Linked DNA regions of Homo sapiens: region 2 is linked to region 1. Evidence: promoter capture Hi-C in human tissues and cell types (Jung and others, 2019). All regions are on one chromosome and are shown on one strand. Each heading gives the region's core, a stretch centred on a gene start or on the middle of the fragment in contact. The rest is flanking DNA. Distances are from core to core; before and after follow the strand shown.

The links. Contacts are between HindIII fragments. The study calls those that stand out against the background at their distance.
Region 2: a contact is called between a fragment that was not itself captured here and the fragment with the promoter of LYPLA2 in region 1, in 2 of the 25 tissues and cell types used here (mesendoderm cells and thymus).

Annotation. Positions count from the first base shown.
Region 1 is chr1:23,787,603-23,794,738 of GRCh38, forward strand. It overlaps LYPLA2 (lysophospholipase 2), which reads left to right and starts at 3,543. Exons shown (of 10, transcript NM_007260.3): 1 at 3,543-3,648; 2 at 5,055-5,158; 3 at 5,406-5,437; 4 at 5,549-5,614; 5 at 6,103-6,150; 6 at 6,258-6,328; 7 at 6,461-6,534; 8 at 6,622-6,723; 9 at 6,825-6,998; 10 at 7,080-7,136. The coding sequence starts at 5,081. The coding sequence ends at 7,130. It overlaps LOC105376860 (a long non-coding RNA gene), which reads right to left and starts at 5,930. Exons shown (of 2, transcript XR_947067.3): 1 at 5,870-5,930; 2 at 3,012-3,188. PITHD1 (PITH domain containing 1) reads left to right here. Exons shown (of 6, transcript NM_020362.5): 6 at 1-630. RefSeq lists a silencer at 3,721-3,780. The HindIII fragment of the contact is 2,550 bases long and covers 1,549-4,098 here.
Region 2 is chr1:23,361,340-23,367,999 of GRCh38, forward strand. It overlaps ZNF436 (zinc finger protein 436), which reads right to left. Exons shown (of 4, transcript NM_001077195.2): 2 at 6,634-6,660; 3 at 5,703-5,829; 4 at 1-1,882. The coding sequence ends at 630. Among named protein-coding and RNA genes, the nearest start is that of ZNF436-AS1, 4.3 kb to the right of the region's middle. RefSeq lists a silencer at 6,197-6,491 and an enhancer at 6,437-6,636. The HindIII fragment of the contact is 3,881 bases long and covers 437-4,317 here.

The DNA of each region.
Region 1 (7,136 bases), core at 2,293-4,792:
TTGGGTCTTGGGCTGGGTGGCATCTGGCAGTCATGGGTAACACTTGCTTTTCCAGTTAATGTGGCCATGTGATTCCAAGTGTCATGTTGCTTTGTGGCAAGATTGTTGTGTGACTTGTTTTTTTGTTTTTGTTTTTGTTTTTTTAAAGGAAACTATTTGTGGGCTATAGGAAACTTTCTGATGCCTCCGGATTGTGTTAGTAGTAGCCATCAGGAGGGTCTCCAACTAAAACACTTGTTCCTGCTTGCTCCTTTCCCCTCTCATTGTTCAGCATTCTTGTCAAGTTGCCCAGCTTGGAGTTGTCTGTCACGCACATGTGTCCTGTGGTTATAGCTAGAAGGACAGGAGTCTCCTGCTGATGCGTGATAGCTTAAGCTTGGGGAGAAGGTCTTTTCCACTGCCTAGCTAAGCAGTCTGGGGAGAGCATGGGGATCATTTCTATGTGTGTGGGTAATCTGGTCAGTAAGATTGAGACTTAGTTAAGATTCCCCTTGGAAATTCCTTAATGTTTATTAGCTTCTAACTAGTGTTGTAAGTCCGATGCCAGAATTTGGAGATTTGAGTTCTTCTTTTCATGGCTTTTATTCACTGTGACTAATAAGCTTCCTAATAAATCCTTGCCAGACTTAATGTTTGTATTTTCTTTTGAGTTCTTGATAGCCACTGATGCAACTTTCATTTCATGGGGAACTGTACTGAACTTTGAAATTTTTTGTTGTTGTTTTGGACTAGGTAGATTATAGGAAGTGCCACAATTAAATCAAGACTGGAGCCGGGCGCGGTGGCTCACGCCTGTAATCCCAGCACTTTGGGAGGCCGAGGTGGGCGGATCACGAGGTCAGGAGATCGAGACCACGGTGAAACCGTCTCTACCAAAAATACAAAAAATTAGCCGGGTGCGGTGGCGGGAGCCTGTAGTCCCAGCTACTCAGGAGGCTGAGGCAGGAGAATGGCATGAACCCGGGAAGCGGAGCTTGCAGTGACCTGAGATTGCACCACTGCACTCCAGCCTGGGTGACAGAGTGAGACTCCGTCTCAAAAAAAAAAAAAAAAAAAATCAAGACTGGATCAGTTTCTCCAGGAATGGTCAAGCTTAATTTTGTACAGTAGGCCAAAAACACTCCTACACCCATATATAGTAAAGAAGAAGGTGGGGTTGAAAACCTGTATTTCACAGAAATTAACTGGGCATGGTGGCGTGCACCTGTAGTCCCAGCCACTTGGGAGGCTGAGGTGGGAGGATCACTGGAGCCCAGGAGGTCGAGGCTACAGTAAGCCATGATTGCGCCACTGCACCCCAGCCTGAGGCAACAGAGTGAGACCTTGTCTCAAAACAACAACAACAAAACCCTATATTTCATTTTGCACAAAAGGAAGTGATTTGTAGAATGACATTTACAAAAATAAGGGAGAACAGATTTTGGAGCTCATCAGAAGAAATGAGGGTGAGGAAAGTAATTGAGCAGCTCATGTGGTCTCCAGGTAGACCAAAGACTTTGGACTTAAATTTTGAAAGTCAGTTTAGCAATTGAAGAGAATGTAAGTATCTAAAAAGGGGATTTGATATGGTCAGTATTCTCTCCCTTGCAGAAAACAGGAACAGGTAATAAAGGGAATTAGTGTTGAATCTGATCCTTTTGGGAGAATTCCTCTGAGGCATTGGCCCATGCTGTTGTTTGGAGGATATAGCCACTGTTTCTCCAGCCTGTCCTAGGAAAGGTCTGCTACCACCAAACCTTGTTGGCCCTCAAAATTTCTAAAATGCAGCCTGAAATAAACCAGAATGCAAATGCTGTTCTTGAAAAGCATGAAGGGTCCTATTCACTCAGCCACAGCCTCTTTATTTCAGTTGGATCATTTTTTGGAGTTAAAAGAAGGGCTATGTTTAAATTTGGAGTAGGGGGAAAAATAAAGTTAAAAATCTTAGAGCAGACTAGCCCTTCACTAATTCCACTAATTAAAGCATTAATCACAGCTCCTGGGACTGAGCCTCTGAATTTGAAGCTTCACTCTGAAGAATTTGTTTTAAGTGTCATGGTGTCTCAGGTGATCGAGGTTGCAGGAGGAACTGTTCATTCTTCCATAAGTGGGGACATTACCCTCCATTTTCTTTTGACATTCAGTCCTGGGTCCTTGGCTTGTGGTGGTCCCATAGGCTCAAAGGTTTCCTGCCCCGAATCCTGGTATTGTAGGCTCCCTGACCTGTTGAGTACTTAGGACCAAAGTGCCTCTGGGCCTGGGGGAAAGTGCTTTGTTGAGCTTCCAACTTTGTACTGTTTTCTTTTTCTTTTCTTTCTTTTTTTTTTTTTTTTTTTTTTGAGACAGAGTCTCGCTTTGTTGCCCAGGCTGGAGTGTAGTGGCACTATCTTGGCTCACTGCAAGCTCCGCCTCCCGGGTTCACGCCATTCTCCTGCCTCAGCCTCCCCCCGAGTAGCTAGGACTACAGGCGCCCGCCACAGCGCCAGGCTAATTTTTTGTATTTTTAGTAGAGACAGGGTTTCACCGTGTTAGCCAGGATGGTCTCGATCTCCTGACCTCGTGATCCGCCCGCCTCAGCCTCCCAAAGTGCTGGGATTACAGGAGTGAGCCACCGCGCCTGGCTGTACTGTTTTCTTTCTGTTCAAAGAAAACACTAGTATAGGTTAGGCTGGGAGAGTGAGTCCTAAGCGGCTGAGGGTCAAGTGTGACTCATTTCCTATTTGCAGATCCCCACACATTCTCAGGGACATGCTCCTTCAACTCAGTTTGCCTGCCTTCTGACTTTTCTGTGGTCCCTGATACCTATTTCCACTTCAGCTTGATGGCAGCGTTTTGTGCACTGTCTGCATGACATTGCTTGTGAAGGGCAGCGCTAACACTGCCAGTGCCTGTCCAGCTCTCCTGATACGGCCTTTGTATTTTTCCTAGGTCCTTTTTTGCGTGATTAACACCTCACGCTGTGATTTTACTGTATAAACCATGTTCACACAACCTCATTTAAGCCTACCAACAAAGCTGTGAAGGAGGCAGGGTGGTTATTACCATTTTATATATCAGGAAGCAGATCCAGAGAGGCAGAATTTAAATGGAATCCCGAGGTTGCTGTTTACATGCCTTCCTTGAGCCTCAGTTTCCCCATCTTCAAGGCTGGAGAACTAGATGATCTGTAAGGTCTCTTCGGTTCAGAGTGTGTCATTCCATTCATGATCCTGGAATAGGGCATGAAAGCCAGTGGCAGACACCCGAGGCCTTAAGAGGTGTGTCCCATGAGGATGGGAAGGTGGTAAAGTTTATGCAAACAATAGTGTGAGGGATGCCTCTCCTTCCGGTCGGCCCTCCTCCAGGAGGCGCATGGGTGGTGGTAGCAAGTGGGAGTCTTGGGTGCCCTGTCTCGAATCTACAAGGTGGGAGCGGGTGAGAACCCAGCGACTGCGCGGCTGAATGACAGGGAGTAGCCCCGCCGCCTCCAACATGGCAGCTTCTATCCAGCGAAGCCGGGTCCCCGCTTCCGGGTTCCGTACTGTCGGCCAGGCTACTTCCGGCAGCGCGATGGCTGGGTTCCCGGGACTCGAACGGAAGTTCCGGCGGGGGCGGCCGAGGGGGAAGAGTGTGTCTGCGGGAGAAAGAGGAGAATCGCCCAAGCGGCCTCGGAAGTCCCAGGGAGTGGAGGTACCCAGCCGGCGGCTGCGGAGGATGGGCGTGTAGGGGGAGGTCGGCCTCGGGAGGGTCCCGGAGAGCGGGGAGGGGGAACCGTGATGGGGGGGATGGGGGTGGGGAGTGAGGTGCGAAGGCGCTGTCCAGTCTTGGGGACTTCGGGAGTGGAGCGGGGCTAGGCAAGGGGGTGTCTGAGTATAAAGAGACAGACTTCAGGGTCGGAAATAGAAGAGCCCATTGTGGGGCGGGGGCTTCCCCAGAGTCAAAGGTACAAAGCTTTATTGTGGGCAGGTGGGAGTCCTGGGTCAGGGTAGAAAATTTCACTGGGTAGGGTGACCTTTGGTCAGAACAGAAGTTCCCATTGTGGGGAGCGGGAGATCCTGGGTCAGGGTGGAAGTTCTCAAGGTGTATAGAGAGAGACAGGTCAGGGGGAAGGCACCCCTCCGAGGAGGGAGCCTGGGCGGGAGGTGCAAGTCCCCACGGTGGAGAAGGAAGGGAATCGCAGCTCAGGGCAGGAGGTGCATTCCCCATGGGAAGAGGAACCCCGGGTCACAGGTGAACGATCCCATTGTGGGGAGCTGCCCTCAGGGGTCAGAGATGGAAGGTGAGGCCAGTTGGGAGGGGTGGGCAGGCACTTGAGGCAGGTAGTGGAAGCTTCCGGCGAGTTTGGAGGACGCCGAGGATGGGGAGGGGCCAGCCAGCCTGACATTCTTTTGTGTGTTTGGGAGTCCCAGAGCGTGGTCAAGCCAGGGCTCGTTTGCAGTCAGTGGCAGCAGCAGCAGGTAGCTCCGTTTAGGGGGGGCGTGGAGCACCAGTTTGGGGGTGGGTGGAGTTCTTACGCTTTCTGGGGACATGGGCAGCCCCCTGGGGGTCTGGGAATGGATGGGCCAGAAACTGCTGTGAAGGCTGGATGGGGGCTGGGTGGGGGGAGGTTGAGATGGGGGTTGGAGGCGGCACTGAGTAGGGGATGGAAGCTCCTTTCCCTGGCACTTTTCTCTCCATTTCCCATAGGGCCCGGAGTTGGGGAGGCAGGGACCCAGGGATGATTGGAGAGGAGGGGGAAGGCACTCACCCCTGAGGAGTTAGAGGGGGAATGAAGCAGGCGTGCCGCTGCCTCCCCTCTGCCCCCTGCCCTACAGTCCCTATGCCCTGCCTCTGCCTGTCTCCAGCAAGCTCAGGTCCTGTGGTTGGGCCAGAACCAGAGACACATGTTCTGGGCCACTAGGGAGGCTGTCTCTGCCTTTCAGCCCTGGAACTGAGGCAGACTTCTTCTCCTGTGCCCTGGGACTTCTTGCTTGACTATTCTTTGTGCCCAGGACAGAACCTGGGTGCTGTGTGGGGCTGATGGCCTGGTGGCCTCTTGGGCCAGGAGTGTGTCCTGTGCCTGGTTTTGCTCTTGACCGCCGCCCCGATGTATGCAGGCCCCCGCCGTGGAGCCGTGTGGTGTATGTGTGGTAACACCATGTCTGTGCCCCTGCTCACCGATGCTGCCACCGTGTCTGGAGCTGAGCGGGAAACGGCCGCGGTAAGGGTCCCCTTTCACCCACGGCCAGACACTGTGGGAGCAGCTGGAGGACCGGCTGGAGGGGGTGTGGGAAAATGGAGGTGGCAGTGATGAGCAGGGAGTATCCTGAGGCCAGCAGGCTCGGGGTAGTAACCTGTTTGGCTGCTACCTGGGTTCCCCCAGGTCCTTGGGGGTGGGGGAGGGGTGGGCAGAAGTTGGAGGACCTAGGGGAAGCCTTCCTGTCTCCCCATTTCCCATCCTTTTCCAGGTTATTTTTTTACATGGACTTGGAGACACAGGGTAAGTGACTGAGGAGGGGTGCTCCTTAAGGAGGGGTCCTGGCCCAGCAGCGGACTGGAGAGGCCTTCTCTTCCTACCACATCGGAGCCTTTTCTCCCGTCCCTCCTACAGGCACAGCTGGGCTGACGCCCTCTCCACCATCCGGCTCCCTCACGTCAAGTACATCTGTCCCCATGCGTGAGTGTCACCCCAGCAAGGGAGGGGCTGAGGCTGGGGATCATCTGGGGGTGGTCCTGTCATCCCAGGCCTGTTCTCTCCTGTCAGTTGCATCCTGGGGCTTGGGCTCAGGGCAGTCAGAAGTGGCATTTTCAGCCTGAGCTCCTGTGGAGCCCCCAGGAGTGGGGTCCAGCACCAGCCCCCAGCCCTAGGGCCTCCTAGACCTGAGCTCTCCTAGAACCCACACCTCCCTTTGCCCCTTCCCCAAGTACTCACCGACTACCTGGGACCCCGTCACACCAAGCGCTGGGCTCTGCTTCTCCATTACTGGCGCTTTGCCCCAACCACAGCCTCCAGCCCCACGTGGCAGGTTGCCTGGCAACACCTTAAACACAGGCCCTGCCTGCTGGGAGGGGCCACCAGGGGCGGCGCGGCCCCACTCCGGGCTCTGAGCTCTGGCCTCCTCATTCCTCCTGAGCATGATGGGCCCTCTGGCTCTCTTTCCCCAGGCCTAGGATCCCTGTGACCCTCAACATGAAGATGGTGATGCCCTCCTGGTGAGTTTGGGAGTGGGGGTGGGCAGGGGGACGAGGACACTTGGGCTGAGGGAGCCACAGGGGGCTGGCTGGGGTTTTCTATAGCTGCCAGTGCCTCTACTCCCAAGGTTTGACCTGATGGGGCTGAGTCCAGATGCCCCAGAGGACGAGGCTGGCATCAAGAAGGCAGCAGAGAACAGTAAGACCCCAGCCCCTCCTCCACATCCTCCTTCCCCTGCCCCCCAGGAAAGCGCTGGGCGGTTCCTCAGCCTAGCTCCCTTATTGGGCCCCTTGGCAGCTTCCCTCTACCCACTCATGCCCCCTCCCCCAGTCAAGGCCTTGATTGAGCATGAAATGAAGAACGGGATCCCTGCCAATCGAATCGTCCTGGGAGGCTTTTCACAGGTGAGGGGAGAGGGGTGGGGGGGTAGGGGGTAGGGGTGGCCGGTGAGTGAGCTGTGCCCTCATGACCCCTCTCTCTCCTCCCTCCAGGGCGGGGCCCTGTCCCTCTACACGGCCCTCACCTGCCCCCACCCTCTGGCTGGCATCGTGGCGTTGAGCTGCTGGCTGCCTCTGCACCGGGCCTTCCCCCAGGTGAATGTCCCCACTGACCCCCCCGCCCTTTGTGTCTGCATCCTCGTGGCTTGGGGACTGCTGCAGCACTAGCTTTGCCCTGAGTCCTGTCCGGCCTCCAGGCAGCTAATGGCAGTGCCAAGGACCTGGCCATACTCCAGTGCCATGGGGAGCTGGACCCCATGGTGCCCGTACGGTTTGGGGCCCTGACGGCTGAGAAGCTCCGGTCTGTTGTCACACCTGCCAGGGTCCAGTTCAAGACATACCCGGGTGTCATGCACAGCTCCTGTCCTCAGGTCAGTGGGGGGACCATTTCCCACTCCCACTTCTCTGCCTCCAGCCAGGTGCCTCTCGTGATCCCCTCTTAATCCCCTCAGGAGATGGCAGCTGTGAAGGAATTTCTTGAGAAGCTGCTGCCTCCTGTCTAACTAGTC
Region 2 (6,660 bases), core at 1,127-3,626, 430 kb before region 1:
GTTAGCCTTCACAAAGATGCAAGCTTTAAAGGAGCTAATTAGAAACAATGAGAAGGAGAAAAGTTACAATCATTGCCTTCATCGTGCAAAATCTTGCCCTCAGGAAGATGGAAAAGATACAAATGCATGAGCAACTCAAGGAAAAAGCCCTTTGGAAGGGAAGATGTGTGTGCCCAACTACTATGGTGTGTGAATAGGTGTGGCAATTTAGGCAGAGTCTCTAGTTGCCTTTTTCCAAAGCAGCCATTACCACCCTATTACAGTCCCACGTTTCACTTAGCATAGTTCCTTGGGCCAAGGATGGGAGAAAATAACATTGAAAGATTTACTCCATTTCCAGGCCTAAGCATTCACCAGCATTTGTCCCCTGGTCTTCAGATTTCCAGTTACTTGTGGGGCTGCTTTTAATGAAGTAACCCATTGAGTGAATAAAAATCACCATTTTGGAGGAGATAACATTCCCAAAGCTGAGGGTCAGAATTTCAAATGGCTTGTCATCTCTGATGGTTTAAATCGTGGCCCACAACTAGGAGAGTATGATAAAAGCAGCTCAGTCTTGAGGGCGTTCATTGATATCAAATAAAATTGTATCTTCAAATGAATCATTTCTCAGCCATCATAATTACAGCTTAGTCCGTATGAACTCTCTTATGTTTAATAAGAGCTGAGCTCCTGCTGAAACTCTTCTCACATTCGGTACATTCATAAGGTTTCTCTCCCGTGTGAACTCTTTGATGTGTGATGAGGTTGGAGCTCTGGGTGAAACCTTTCCCACACTGCACACACTCGTAGGGCTTCTCCCCTGTGTGGGTTCTCTGATGTTTAATTAGATCTGACCTTTCACCAAAGCTTCGCCAACACTCATTACACTCATAAGGCTTCTCTCCAGTGTGAATTTTCTGGTGTGTGATGAGATGAGAGCTCCGGCTGAAGCTTTTCCCACAAGCATTGCATTCATATGGCTTCTCTCCAGTGTGAGTTCTCTGGTGCTGAACCAAGTGTGAGATGCGGCTGAAATTTTCCCCACATTCGTTACAGTGGTATGGCTTCTCTCCCGTGTGGGCTCTGCGATGACGCACAAGGTCGGAGTTCTGACTGAAATTCTTCCCACACTCATCACACTTGTAGGGCCTCTCCCCTGTGTGGACTCGATAGTGTTTGATGAGATCAGATCTCTCACTGAAGCCTCGGCCACATTCGTTACATTCATAAGGTTTCTCACCCGTGTGGGTCCTCTGGTGCTGAGCTAGGTGAGAGCTCCGGCTGAAGCTTTTCCCACACTCCTCACACTCATAGGGTTTCTCACCACTGTGGGTCCTTTGGTGTTGGATTAGGTGAGAGAGACGGCAGAAACTTTTTCCACACTCATTACATTTGTGAGGCTTCTCTCCAGTGTGGATTGTCTGATGCTGAATCAGGTGAGAACTTCTTCCAAAACTTTTCCCACACTCGTTACAGTCATAAGGCCTCTCCCCAGTATGTGTTCTTTGATGCTGAATAAGGTGTGAGCTGCGACTGAAGCCTTTTCCACATTCATAACATTTATAGGGTCTGTCTCCAGTGTGGGTCTTCTGATGTCGATTAAGGTCTGAGATCTGACTGAAGGCCTTTCCACAATGAGAACATATATGATAGCGGATGCCTGTGTGGACTTCTTTGTGGACAAGTAGATCAGTGACTGGTTGGAGAGGATAGCTTACCCACTCTTCTGCTGTTAAATCTCCCCATTGTCTTTCTGACCTATCTCCGCTTTCAAAGCCCTCTTCACTTTCAGGATTTTCCTCAGCATTCTCAGCAGGTCTTTCAGATGTAGTCCCAAATTGTACATCTTCACTAATCTCTTGCTTGGGATTTACCTCGTTCTCACTCCTGATCTCAAAATCTGTAATAAAAAGTAAACAATAAGACTAGTAAGTACAAAAATTACCTATTGTGTGCCAGGCACTATACTAAATTTTTTTTTTTTTTAGACAGAGTCTCACTGTGTTGCCTTGGCTGGAGTGCAGTGGTGTGATCTTGGCTCACTGCAACCTCTGCCTCCTGGGTTCAAGCAATTCTCCTGTCTCAGCCTCCTGAGTAGCTGGGACTACAGGTGCACGCCACCATGCCCGGCTAATTTTTTTATTTTTAGTAGACACAGGGTTTCACTATATTGGTCAGGCTGGTATTGAACTTCTGAGCCACTGTGGCCAGCCTAAATTATTTATATTCTTCGTCACATATATTCTTTATCACAGCTATTCTGAGAGTCAGGAATTGTGATTATTTCTACTTCATTAATGAGAAATCCAAGACCCAGACAAGTGAATTGACTTGCTCAAGGCCATAGTAAATGGTAGAGCCAGTATTCAAACTCAGGTCTGTCAAAATTCACATTCTGTATCGCTGTAATTAATGATTCATTAAGAAAACTATACAGGCCAGGTGCCGTGGCTCACGCATGTAATCCTAACACTTTAGGAGGCCAAGTCAGGAGGAACACTTAAGGCCAGGAGTTCAAGACCAGCCTGGGCAATATAGGGAGAACCCATCTCTACAAAAAAATTTAAAAAATTAGGTGGATGTGGTGGCATGCAACTGTAGTCCCAGCTACTCAGGAGGCTGAGGTAAGAGGATCACTTGAGCCCAGGAGTTCAAGGCTGCAATAAGCTGTGATTGTGCCACCGCACACCAATATGGGTGACAGAACGAGACCCTGTCTCTTAAAAAAAAAACTATATATATTCGTGTTTTGAAAGAACACTGGAAGCAGAAAATATGAGACTCTAAATTAGAATATCTAAAAGGCAAGATTCTAGGTATTTTGTGAGTATGTATTTTTTAACTTGCCAAGCCTTCATCATTAGTAGCATCATAAAATATTTACTAAGAAGCCACTATGTTTTTGTTTGTTTGTTTGTTTTGTTTTGTTTTTTGAGATGGAATTTCACTCTTGTTGCCCAGGCCGGAGTGCAATGGCGCAATCTCCGCTCACTGTAACCTCTGCCTCCTGGGTTCAAGCGATTCTCCTGCCTCATCTTTCCGAGTAGCTGGGATTACAGGTGCCCGCCACCACATCCAGCTATTTTCTTGTATTTTTAGTAGAGACAGGTTTTACCATGTTGGCCAGGCGGGTCTTGAACTCCTGATCTCAGGTGATCTGCCCGCCTCAGCCTCCCAAACTGCTAGGATTACAGGCGTGAGCCACCGTGCCTGGCCAGAACCAACTATGTTAATATGGAGAAAAATGAATCTTTACCTATGTCATAGTTGACAGAAAAGTGACTGACAAATGTCACTTCCTACTTTTCAGTGACCTTTTAATGAAAATAGGAGTGGGAAAGTTGAAGAAGGCAAAAAAGATGTCTGGCTGAGAACATTCTTGGCATTGTCTAAGTATATTTCACATGCAGTCTTCAAATGAAAATCAAAATACACAACCACTGTCTACAAGGAGTTTTATACCAGACACTGCATTCTCCAAATTGGGTTTCTTAGTACACTCTTCAGAAAGAAAGTATGTATTTTGGGAGAAAAGGGTTCATGGATAAACTGGGTTGGTAAATGGTACATACAATATCATTTCCTTCAAAATTCACAATGCCTAATAACACATTAAAGGTTCTAAGGAATCCTGAGGTAAAAAGGCCTTATAAGGCCAGATGCAGTAGCTCAGGCCTCTAATCCCAGCACTTTGGGAGGCTGATGCAGGAGGATCACTTGAGCCTAGGAGTTTGAGACCAGCCTGTGCAACATAGGGAGGTCTCACTTCTATTAAAAATAAAAAGAGGCAGGCCGGGCGCGGTGGCTCACGTCTATAATCCCAGCACTTTGGGAGGCCGAGGTGGGCAGATCACGAGGTCAGGAGATCGAGACCATCCTGGCTAACACGGTGAAACCCCATCTCTAAAAAAAAAAAACGCAAAAACTAGCCGAGTGTGGTGGCGGGCACCTGTAGTCCCAGCTACTCAGGAGGCTAAGGCAGGAGAATGGCGTGAACCTGGGAGGCAGAGCTTGCAGTGAGCTGAGATCGCGCCACTGCACTCCAGCCTGGGCAACAGAGCAAGACTCCATCTCACAAAAAAATAAATAAATAATAAAAAAATAAAAAGAAGCTGAGCATGGTGCCTGACACCTGTATTCCTAGCACTTTGGGAGGCCGAGGTGGGCGGATCACTTGAGGTCAGGAGTTCAAGACCAGCCTGACCAACATGGTGAAACCCCGTCTCCACTAAAAATACAAAAATTAGCTGAGCGTGGTGGCATGCACCTGTAATCACAGCTAGTCGGGAGGCTGAGGCAGGAGAATTGCTTGAACTCAGGAGGCAGAGGTTGCAGTGAGCCAAGATTGGGCCACTGCACTCCAGTCTGGGCAACAGACTGAGACTCTGTTTCAAAAAAATTAATTAATTAATTAATTAATTTAAAATTTTTTAAAAAATAAAAAGAATTAGCCGGGCAAGGTGGTACGCATCTGTGATCCCAGCTACTCAGGAAGCTGAGATGGGAGGATGACCTGGGCCTGGGAAGTCAAGGCTGCAATGAGTTGTGATCGTGCCACTGCACTCCAGCCTGGGCAACAGAACAAGATCCTGTCTCAAAAAAAAAAAAAAAAAAGCCTTGTAATCATTTTTAAACCCATTCCCATTCCCAAACTTATTTGGGCAAGAAACCAGTTTTTTGGCGCTTTCATCCTTCTAACAAGTGCTTTTGGGGCTAAACTGTAGAATTGTAAATTCACATTTTTTAAAGATTGTCATTTTTTGCTTTTGTTGGATTCAGTGGAATATTTGGGTTACAGACTGCAATAGATCTGGATAGATAACTATTTATGGTTACTTTTATAAAGAAAGGATTCAAGAAACTAGGGACATCAGAGAAAGCTCAAGTTAAAAAGGAAAGCCCTCAGAGTTGCCTTTTGTTCTGAAAAAGGCTATGGGAATAAAGATTTCAAAAACAGGATTAATCCTAATGAATGGCAAATGACCTAGTGACCCATACACGCTTGCTAATGTCTGTCAAGTCTTGACAGGAGGCAAAGTGAGGCAAAGTGAGTCAAAAGACCGTTCAGCTCAAGAATATACTCTTTATTCTAGTTACACCCAGACCAAAGTACAGCAAAGAGAGAAGACAGGCTTGCAGACCATGAAAAAAAAATCAGCTGCCCTCTCTAATAGAATTTGTGATCTATTTCAGCATTCTTCTGGAACAGCATTTGACACACTACAAATCTATCATCATCAACACTGAAACATCTCTAGATGAGAATCTACTCAGCTAAGGAACTTGAGGCAAAGCTAGGGCTCTGAAGCCAAAACAAACACAAAAAGGTGGCTTTCGCCCTCCCATGAACCTGGGTTAGAATCCCCTCATCTTTTAGCACCCTAGAGTAAAAGCACTAGTTACGGGGCATTTATATTCTGGCAAGCACTATTATGCCAGACCTGTTTGGTCAGTGATCTGTACAAACAGGCTGGAGATTGGAAAATGACTCAGGGCACAAGAAATCTGAACGTCTAAGACGTGCAGAAGCAGTTTTTTTCTTTTTAGACAATATGACCTGGATGTTCCCATATTCAAAGATCTGCCTGAGGACTCAAGTCAAGCCAATATCCAATTAAGTGCTTTAAAAAATCAAACCACTAGGCTGTGTTGAAAGAACTAAGTCATTTTGACACGATCTCAAAAACGTGGAGGCAAAGAAAGGTAGAATCCTTACTTACCTAGTGAGACAACATTTCCATAATTCTCCTGCATAACATCCCGGTAAAGGTCCCTCTGTGCAGCGTCCAGAGGTCTCCATTCTTCCCGGGTGAGATACATGGCCATATCTTCAAACGTCACAGGTGCCTGAAATCACACGATACTTCCCTACTATTCTGTATTTAGGACTTCTTGAAATTAGAAACATGATTAGAAATATTCAGGAGGAAAAATATATTAAATGTGACCTATAGAGTCCAAATAAGAAATAAACAAGCAAAAAAGAGATGTGGTAAAGAAGGCAGCAATTTATGAGCTGATTGCTCTGGTCCCATGGCCAGCTATCCCTGCCCCACTCAGGAACTTTATCCTCTGGCTGTGACTTTCTCAGGACATATCTGGCACTTGCATCGCTCCATACCTTTACTCATAATGTTCCTCTTTTCCTGGAATATTCTTCTCACACTAGAGAAATTCTACTACTCTTTAAGGTCCCGCTGCAGTACTAACTGTTCTTCAATGCCCCCTACCCCTCTGCACGGCTCCACTCCCCTTGGATGCCCCAGATAGACTTAATCACGCCGACTTCTTGGGAGTGATTCCCACACTACAGCACTTTGTTCCTACAGCAAGTAGAGCACTTACTACGTTGTGCCACGCTTAAGTGGATGCGCCTTTCTCCCTACAGATTGTGAACTGTGAGCTGTGAGCTAGAAGGTAGCGCCCATCTCGTCCATCTTTTATCTCCCCAGTATTTAAAGGCATACAGCAGGTGTTCGATATATGTTTGTTTGTGACTATACTGGCCTGGTACTAGGCCCCTGGAGGCAGAATATCGAAGCCAGCGAATTACTAATCCCAGGGAATTTCCCACAGGGACTTGCAGAGCAGAGAAACGCCGGACGAGGTGGGTAAGCAGAGACAAGGTCTGAGAAGCCACCTCCGGCTTACCTGGGACCCAGCCATGAGCAGGGTGGC